Regions from separate parts of the Homo sapiens genome. Here region 2 is linked to region 1. The links are contacts of gene promoters, found by promoter capture Hi-C in human tissues and cell types (Jung and others, 2019). All regions are on one chromosome and are shown on one strand. The core of a region is centred on a gene start or on the middle of the fragment in contact, and the rest is flanking DNA. Distances in the headings are between cores, read along the strand shown. Region 1 holds the start of GREM2 (gremlin 2, DAN family BMP antagonist). Region 2 overlaps GREM2 (gremlin 2, DAN family BMP antagonist).

Region 1 (4,548 bases), core at 537-3,036:
CACGATTTCAAAAAGCACCCAGTTAAATCATTCAGATCAGTCGATGGGCAAAAACTATGAAGTTTTCCTGACTCTATGGTAGAGCTAAGCATGCATTTCCTTTAATGACAGAAAGAACATGTTCATCTGATAAGAAACAAAAAACAAACAAACAAAAAAAGGTCGATATAAATTCTCCACTGTGATATACAACACAAATACCTTTCTTATAACTTTCTTATCTTCCTTGGTCGGGCACATGTCTTGGGACAAAGGCTACCTTGAAAGCTAAGCACGGCTGAATGGTGAGTCGATTGCGAATTATCAGTGAATGGTTTGGATATGATCGACTAAGACTCCACTGGGAAGAGTGCTGTTTAGACGAAAGGTAAGGTATTTGATTGCCCCTGCACCTGCTGCAGAGCCATTCTCTGGCTGTACTGGAGTCCCAATCTGTTCCACTGCAGAAAAAGCGCTTTTCATAGGGATTCAGAGCCACATGAATACCAGCCAGCCCTTGAAGACTGCAAAGCAAGACCAATTTTTTAACTGACTTCTTGCAGTCCCCTCTGGCTTTTCCCAGGAAAGACTGAACTCATTAAGCAATGCTAATTTAATCACAAGTCATCAAGGGGTGGGGAGTTATATAACTATCTTTAAAATTTCAAATCAAACATGATAAAATCTCAGGAAATAGATTTTTTTAACAAAACCCACACCTCAAAATAAAAAAAAAAAAGAAATAGAAGTTTATGAGTTTTAGGATCAAATAAAATAAAATCAAACATCAATATTTTCTTACAACTATCACATCTACTAGATAGTTCCAATTCATGACTTTTTAATGTAGTAATATGTGAGATCCTGGAACTGAACGTGCCTGGCGTGCAGAATACAAATGCATTTTTAAACTCGTAAGACAATGTAGAAATAAGTCAGGTACACAGGAAGGATCACTGACAATCACGTTAAAAAATAACTACCTCCCTTCTCTCTTCTCCTTCAACCACAGCGTAGTGATAATAGTGATATTTCCCTCATGAGGCGGGTGCACCTTGGCCATATGCTTTAAAAAATCAAAACTCTGCCGAAGTCCGCTGTGGTTCCTATTCCTGTAGGGAGGATATTAACCTGGTAGGTAGGTGGGAGAGGTTCGTAGCCCGCTTTCTAACAATTGGATGGTGTTTGCCTCGCTATAGTCATGATTAGAATGGCGGTCACCAAGAGGTATTTATTGGTGGGATGACAACATATTGGTATTGACGTTATTTAAAAGAGAAAGAAAGAGCGATCACGGTCAAGTTTGAAGGTCCTTATGTTACACCCACGCATAATTCAATAGGTGAATAAACCTTGTGGCCCCCAGACACACGCCAACAGCTTGAATTACCCGGGGTGAAACCGGCGAGACGTCCACTCAGGGCTTTCGGTCCTGACCAGCCACGGAACAAACAACGTCAATTCATTCTAAGTGCCTGGTGAAGGTAGAAATCAGAAACCGTGTCTGTGTCACGTTAGTCGTGACAAGCTGCGTACCTGCAATGACGTGATGGAAGCCTCCTCCTCGGGTCCCTTCTCTCTCTCTCTCTCCCTCTCCCTCTGCCTTCTCTGAGTTCTCTAGTCCACAGCGGGGTCTAAGTTTGGTCTCCCGCCGCCGCTTTCAGTTCGACCGCAGCCAGACTGCAGCAGACGCCCATAAGAGAAGCGCGCCGGCTGAGGGTGCAGGAGAGGCGAGAGCGCGCCCCGCGCCGCGCGGTCCCAGGCTGGCTGCTCCTGCAGATGTGAAAGGAGCCCGGAGACTTAGCTCTGAATCCTCTCGGCGCTGCATGGGGATATTATCAGAGTCTGGGATTTCTATTGGCTCTGAACACCAAACAAATCACACCAGCCACCCCCCTTCTCTGTTTCACTCAGCGCTTGTTTCTCATCTAACCCACAAACATTGCAGCCACACCACACACTTCAGTCGCTTGCAATGTTTCTCTTTTCCTCCTTCCAGTCAGTGGATTTACAACCCTGTGGTCAGCTCTAACATTTTTTTTAGCAGACTTCCAATTCTAACCTTCTTGTTTATGTAGAGAAATTCTCCCTCCATCCCCTAAACCAGAAAAAAACAAAAAACAAAAAAAAAACACTCATTCCCTTCAGATCTTCTTCCTTTTGCTGATGGGTTTCCAATGTGAAGAATGTAGAAAGCCTGTGTGTGATATGTCTGACATTCTCATACACGTGCGCTTACACACACACACACACACACACACACACACACACCAGGCTCCTTTTGTTTGCAGTAACTGAGGCCAGTGAAATAAAAAGCAAGCTGAGCCTAATAACCTAAGTGAGAGCTTAACTAATAAAATCTTGAATGAATTCAGTGCAAAACACCCATTGCTTGAATTTGTTTTCTGTTCCAAATAGTACTTTGGTCATTATTATCCTGATTTTTGTTTATTGAATGCAGAGGTTTCTAATGCAAATCAGACTCTTCAACATCCAGAGAACATAAAACAATGACGCCAGACCAATTCTTGTGCTCCATCGGCTTGGTGCGTTATACCAGAAGCGTATTGTGACGCCTAAGTGCTTGCTCTTTTCATTATTTTTTGAACTTCTCACCACTGATCATCTCAGGACTGAGACTCCCTTAGTGTGATTCACCAGCCAAAGACGACTATTCAGACTCTGCTGATAGAGGTTCCTGGATGAAAATTTTTTATCTGTATGTGTCAATAGAGATAAACCTTTGGCCCCTTGGCAGGGAAAGGGCCCAAGAAAAATCTGAGATCTTACAAACTTGGCTGGGGAAATTCAGAATAAAATAAAGTTTCAGTGTGTCTTATAAAACAGACCCTCCCTTAGACTTTTCCCCAAAATCAATTTCACTGGTGCTTATGGAAATTTTAATGACAGTTATTCTTGACAAGAAGCCATTGCTTCTGAAATCTCTGAGCTCTGTTTTGATTTTTGACTTGAATTTTTTTTTTGCAGTGTTATCCCTTTTGTATGCTATTTGGTATTTGATATTCTAGTTCCAACTCAACTCACAGCACATTGGGTTGCAAATTCACAGGAAATAACAATTAGTTCTTGAAATATACTATCACCAAACAGACTACCTGCCTTCTTTCTTACGTGGGCACATTACAGGAATTGTGAAATGCAGCCTTATTCTCAGAATGGGCCTGCCTGAAATCAGCTGAAATTGACAAAGGAAATACAAAACAAAACCACGTTTAGCAGTTGGTTCCTGCTAACCACAGTCTAACCTCAAATGGCATATCCTTATTGCTTCAACAACTCCAGTTCATTCCCTTTCTTTAGGTAGGCAGCTAAAAACAAAATACTGTCATAAATCTTTGAAAGTGTAGAATGTATTTCTTCTAAAGATCTCAACAGTCTTCGAAAAAAAAAGGAGTTATAGGTATGATATTCCAGATTTTCCAGGTGGAGAAACAGAGTGGAGGAATGATAAAGTGACTTGCTGAAGGCAGACAGCAAATAGAGCTGGGAGAGTGGATGACTGCCCTGTTTGTTCATACAAACTGTTTGACTCAAAGGAAAGCAAAGGGTTAACACAGCTGACTCTCATTCCTGCCTGCCTTTGCACAGAAGAGCTAACAATTCATGAAATCATCTGTCCAACTTGGTAAATAGTCATTTATGTTATTTCAGAACGGGTCATGTTATTTTCAGATAAGTTACCAATAATTTGCCTTCGAATTGCCTTTCTAGAAAAGAGAGAAACAGTTACTGAGAAAACCAAGTAGATCATTGTATTTTGTGCTTGTTATTTTCAGGGCTCATTATAGCTCTTCATAGCACTGAAAAGACAGTGTAAGTGAAATCATGGGTGACTTAAAGTCACAGATCTATCTTAAACTTCATTTTAGATAATAATTCAAGCCCTCTGTCCTTCAGTTAATGAAGAGCAAAACTGGATGATTTAAAGGACATCTATACCCCATCAGTTGTGTGGTTAAGGGAAAATAAATCGTCAGTGTTTATTATTCTATATTTAGTCTTTTCGTCATTTTGCTACCTTTAAAAGAGTTTTTCAAAGACATTTCTTAAATCCTTTATAAATGACACAGACATCCGTAATAATAAAAACGCTTGCATCTCAGCATGCACAGCAGCGGACAGCCGGGCAGATTCATGACAGAACAATCATTTTATTTTCCACTTATTCAGCCACATCAGGATCATCCTGCTTAGTTCAGTGTGGCACTTTTTACAGGAGATATTCACAAATTGGCATGTATCCAAAGGAGTTGATAAGATGATGATTCTGAATATTATAATTTATAAGAGATGCAAGAGAGAATCAGGCATCTTGGAGTAGGAACTGAGGTGAAAATGATAACATTTTCAAACAGTAAAGGTAAAAGAGGAAATATGTTTATTATTCAGATAATGCTTCAAATGTATTGTCATTTTTATAAACATTTTCTTTCTTGATTTTTTTAAACAACTCTATGAGGAATGTAAGATAAATGCTACTAGGCTAATTTTAGAGATTAAAAGAGTTTGTATAGTAAAGTCACCCTGATGTAGTCACAGTTACGATGC
Region 2 (4,548 bases), core at 617-3,116, 61 kb before region 1:
GATCACCTGAGGTCGGGAGTTCAAAACCAGCCCGGCCAACATGGAGAAACCCCATCTCTACTAAAAATACAAAAATTAGCCAGGTGTGGTGGCACATGCCTCTAATCCCAGCTATTCGAGAGGCCGAGGCAGGAGAATTGCTTGAACCTGGGAGGCGGAGGTTGCGGTGAGCCAAGATCACACCATTACACTCTAGCCTGGGCAACAAGAGAGAAACTCCATCTCAAAAAAAAAAAAAAGAAAAGAAAGAAAGCAAAAAGTGTGCAGATAGAGAACAGGAGTAGGGTAAAAATAATACATCAACTAATTGGTTAACCTAAAAAGAGATAAATCCCAGCAGAGCTAAGGAAAGGGACTTTTTGTTTTTAGATAGAAGGTTTGAGCAGATTTACAAGGTAAAACCCAATACAGAATCAAATATTAAAGACACAACAAAAAAACCGGTGCATCTGAAAGTGTAGAATTTAAAAGAAGGTGGGGTTCCACAGAACTGAGACATCTGGAAAGGCCTTGGTCTTGGAGAAGAGGAGCTACAGCTTCTTCTCTGAGATAACACTGAAGAATGAGAGATCCCTGAAGCTACGGTGATGTGCTTGGAGACAGTGAGAAAGATGTGGCTCTGTGTCACACAGAGTTGGCAAGGCAGAAAGGGGAAGGTACAGATCTCCATGTATGAAAAGCAGTGTGGCCATCAGGAGTGGAATCACCTAGAACAGACTCTGTAGGCAAGATAAGGAATGATTAAGGGATGAATTAGAGCCATGAGGTGGGGCATAGACTGTTCAGCCGGTTCCGGCACCTGCTTCTACCATGGATGAGGCAAATAGGAGTAGAAAGGATGGAGGAAGAAGTCAAAAGCTTCTATTATTTATTCGAGGGAATGCCATGTCAGGGGCACCGATTGTTTTTATTTATTTTATTTTTTTTAAGACGGAGTTTCGCTCTTGTTGCCCAGACTGGAGTGCAATGGCGGGATCTCTGCTCACCACAATCTCCCGCCTCCCGGGTTCAAGCGATTCCCCTGCCATAGCCTCCCAAGTAGCTGGGATTACAAGCATGGGCCACCATGCCCGGCCAATTTTGTATTTTTAGTGGAGACGGAGTTTCTCCATGTTGGTAAGGCTGGTCTCAAACTCCCCACCTCAGGTGATCCACCCGCCTCGGCCTCCCAAAGTGCTGGGATTACAGGTGTGAGCCACCGCGCCCAGCCAGGGGCACTGATTACTAGGGGAACTAGCCATTTGCCGAAACCCCCAATTAACTCAGGCGGATTTACAGATTAATGATTTGTTAAAACAAACAAACAAACAAACAAACAAACTCCTGGCACAATGTCCTGCTTTTCTCCAACAATGCTCAGAAGACTCAGTGAATGTGAGTGTGACCCAGGATGGAGGATAGCATAACAAAAGGTAAAATGATCAGATTCTGTGCCGGGGTACTTGGGGAGTAGTGGGGAAACTGAATAGGACACAATGTAGCATCAGTTGTTTTGCATTAAAAATGACAGGTGGAAATAGAACTCTACTAAGTATCTTCAGTAGTCAATTTAGACTCTGATTTTTTGCTTTATAATGACATTTCCTTTTCTATATTCACATTGGCTACTGAGCTGTTGAGACAGTCTGAAAAGATGTAAATATTTTTGTTACAAGTTGACTAATTCAAAATGTCTTTCATTGAATATTGCTATTACGAATGATCAAAAGCAAATATTGTGCTGACATATCCAATCAAATGGACATTGTCAAACATCCTCAGCCTACATCCTTTAAAATACACCCTTCGTTATTTAGACAGATTGCAATTACTGTAGCAAAATCATGAAGACCAGTTAGGATGGAAACTTGGAATTAAAAGGAATAATTTTGAAAAAAGAATCTTTTATGGCCTAAAAGAACTCATTTAAAGTTTTCTATCCTGGGCTAAATATCTCTGGATGTTCTTAAATTTGATTTATACTGTTTTATTCTGAAATTGAGCTGGTTTCTCATCTTCCCCATGCTTTCTGTGGAGCTGATCCAAGCACAGAGTCTACTTGAGTACTGAAATAGCCTCTGCACTTGGATCTTCTCCATGAGGGTTCAAAGTAAGATGAAACACTGGTTCTTGGGAATGGAATGACTGTGGATCTCAAAGCCCTGACATCTGAAAACAAAAATTGATTTGCATGGAAACTGAGTTCAGTGAAAACTACGCATTTTCAGTATAATAGGTTTACCTTGTGTTTTTTTTTGTTTTGTTTTTATTTTTTTGAGATGGAGTCTTGCTCTGTCACCCAGGCTGATGTGCAATGGCGCAATCTCGGCCCACTGCAACTTTCGCCTCCTGGGTTCAAGCAGTTCTCCTGCCTCAGCCTCCTGAGTAGCTGGGACTACAGGCACATGCCACCACACTGGGCTAATTTTTGTATTTGTAGTAGAGACGGGGTTTCACATGTTGGCCAGGCTGGTCTCTAACTCCTGACCTTGGCCTCCCAAAGTGCCGAGACTTCAGGCATGAGCCACCATGCCTGGTCTAGTTTACTTTTTTTTTTTTTAGTTTACCTATTTTCTAAATGAACTATTGAATGAGGTACACTTAAAATGTAAGCACAAATAAGAATGAAAAACCTCACAGAAATAAGATCTTCTGTTTATTTTCTTTCTTTTTGCCTTCTTAAATGCTGAGGCTGGCTTTCAGTGAGGATATTGAGGACAAAAATGTGTTGAATTAATGGAGAAGGGAGGAGGAACCTCAGAAAGTCATAGTTTCTTCAAGAAAGAAGGGATCCTAGAGATTATGCCAACCTTCCTTACAAATTTTATAGAAAGGGAGTGTAAATTCTGCAAATAAGAGGGTGTATCTAAGATTACACCTAATTTTAGTGAATAGCCCAGGACTATGAAGCCAACATTCTCCATTGAACCACAGTGTCTCTCATAAATTTCTCTTACTCTACATACTTCATATACTGGATGACCTTCCATAGAGAACACAGATTTTTCTTGTAGCAGTAATATTACGATCCTTGGGTATAAGTGATGGTGAGATGATACCAAATTCAGTCCTCTGCCTTCAGTAATCAGCTAAATCAAAGACACTCAACTAAAGGAATTTCTTATTGTTTTCTTTGAAAGTCATATCCAGTTTTTAGGGAGCTTTCATTTTCTAAAAAACACATTTCCCTATATAGAAAGACAGTTTTGGCTGGGCACGGAGGCTTGTGCCTGTAATCCCAGTGCTTTGGGAGGCTGAGGTGGGGGGGTCGCTTAAGGCCAGGAGTTTGAGACCAGCCTGGACAACATAGAGTGATGTGGTCTGTACAAAAAAATTAAAAAGTAAACAAGTAAAAATTAGCCAGCCATGGTGGTATATGCTACAGTCCTAGCTGCTTGGGAAGCTGAGATGGGAGGACCGCCTGAGCCCAAGAGTTTGAGATTACAGCGAGCTGTGATCGGGCCACTGCACTCCAGCAGAGCAAGACCCTATCTCTAAAATCGTTTTAAATTGAAAGGCAGTTTTTGCTGGAGCAAGAAAAGCTTTAGGGCAGGTGTCAGGAGATCTGGTCTTGCAGACCTGCTGTCTAGAGGCGAATGCAAGACTCAGCCTTTCTGAACCTCAGATTCATTAGGTATAAATGCAGAATGATAATGTCCTTCTAACCGATTTTGGTGCGGGGATGCATCTTAGAAGATGCTGTACTTGAAAGTTTTTGAAACATGCTGTAAGGTGATAAAACATTAAAACATTCTTTCTAATTATTAAGCTCTTCTTCTCTTGTGTAGTGTTCCATAAATATTAAGAGTAGTTGATCACATCTTAAATATCTGAAGGCTCTTAATCTCATTTTAAGCCTTTCATCCCCTTTCTTTTACATTACTTGCCTGAAGTACCAGGAAAATATCTTTTTAAGAAAGGAATTCAGTGGTATTTCTGGCAGAAACTCTGTATTGGAAATTGTATATGGCAAACTGATCTCAGCATGCTTTGATCAGGGACATCAGAATTCTATCAGAAATCACGAAGACTTTGAAAGAAAACCCAGAATTAAAAGTGAGACAGCTGGTCTTTTCAGACATCGGGTGAAGCTATGCAAAGTCAACGGGTTTTATCGAGAGCGTTAGCATGAGCAGAAGAAAGGTATTTCCAGCCTTATCATTCTATTGCTTACAAGGGGAAGCTAGTCTGAGTGTGGAAAGCTAAGCTATTCTCTGATTCTCTTGCATTTGAGCTATGTTCAGTTTTCAAGATCATAGGGCAAATAATACATGCAATTTTTATTGCCATTTCCTCACTCCCTAAGAGTCAAGTTATACAAATTTCTTTTGATATCCTCACTCATGGTCCCTACATACTCATCAATTGTCAGATGCGTAAAAATCTCAACTCAGCATGAAATATGGATGTTGACACAATATGACAGGTCTCCACATTTAATTAGGCACAAAATCCCATTAACAATCATAGAGAAGCTCACACACTTTAAACAGTTAACACTTCATGTTTAATGCAGTGTGAGGTCTTAAGCTTGCCATGGCTTATTTATATAACGAACACTTCTGAGAC

Evidence for each region. The method cuts DNA at HindIII sites, captures the fragments that hold promoters and counts their contacts. A contact is called where the count stands out against the background at its distance.
Region 2: a fragment that was not itself captured here is called in contact with the fragment with the promoter of GREM2 in region 1 in 2 of the 25 tissues and cell types used here (H1 embryonic stem cells and adrenal gland).

The regions. Positions count from the first base shown.
Region 1 is chr1:240,610,369-240,614,916 of GRCh38, forward strand. GREM2 (gremlin 2, DAN family BMP antagonist) reads right to left here and starts at 1,787. Exons shown (of 2, transcript NM_022469.4): 1 at 1,516-1,787. The HindIII fragment of the contact is 18,584 bases long and covers 1-4,548 here.
Region 2 is chr1:240,549,112-240,553,659 of GRCh38, forward strand. The region is part of intron 1 of GREM2 (gremlin 2, DAN family BMP antagonist); the gene reads right to left. Among named protein-coding and RNA genes, the nearest start is that of GREM2, 61 kb to the right of the region's middle. The HindIII fragment of the contact is 4,298 bases long and covers 1-4,015 here.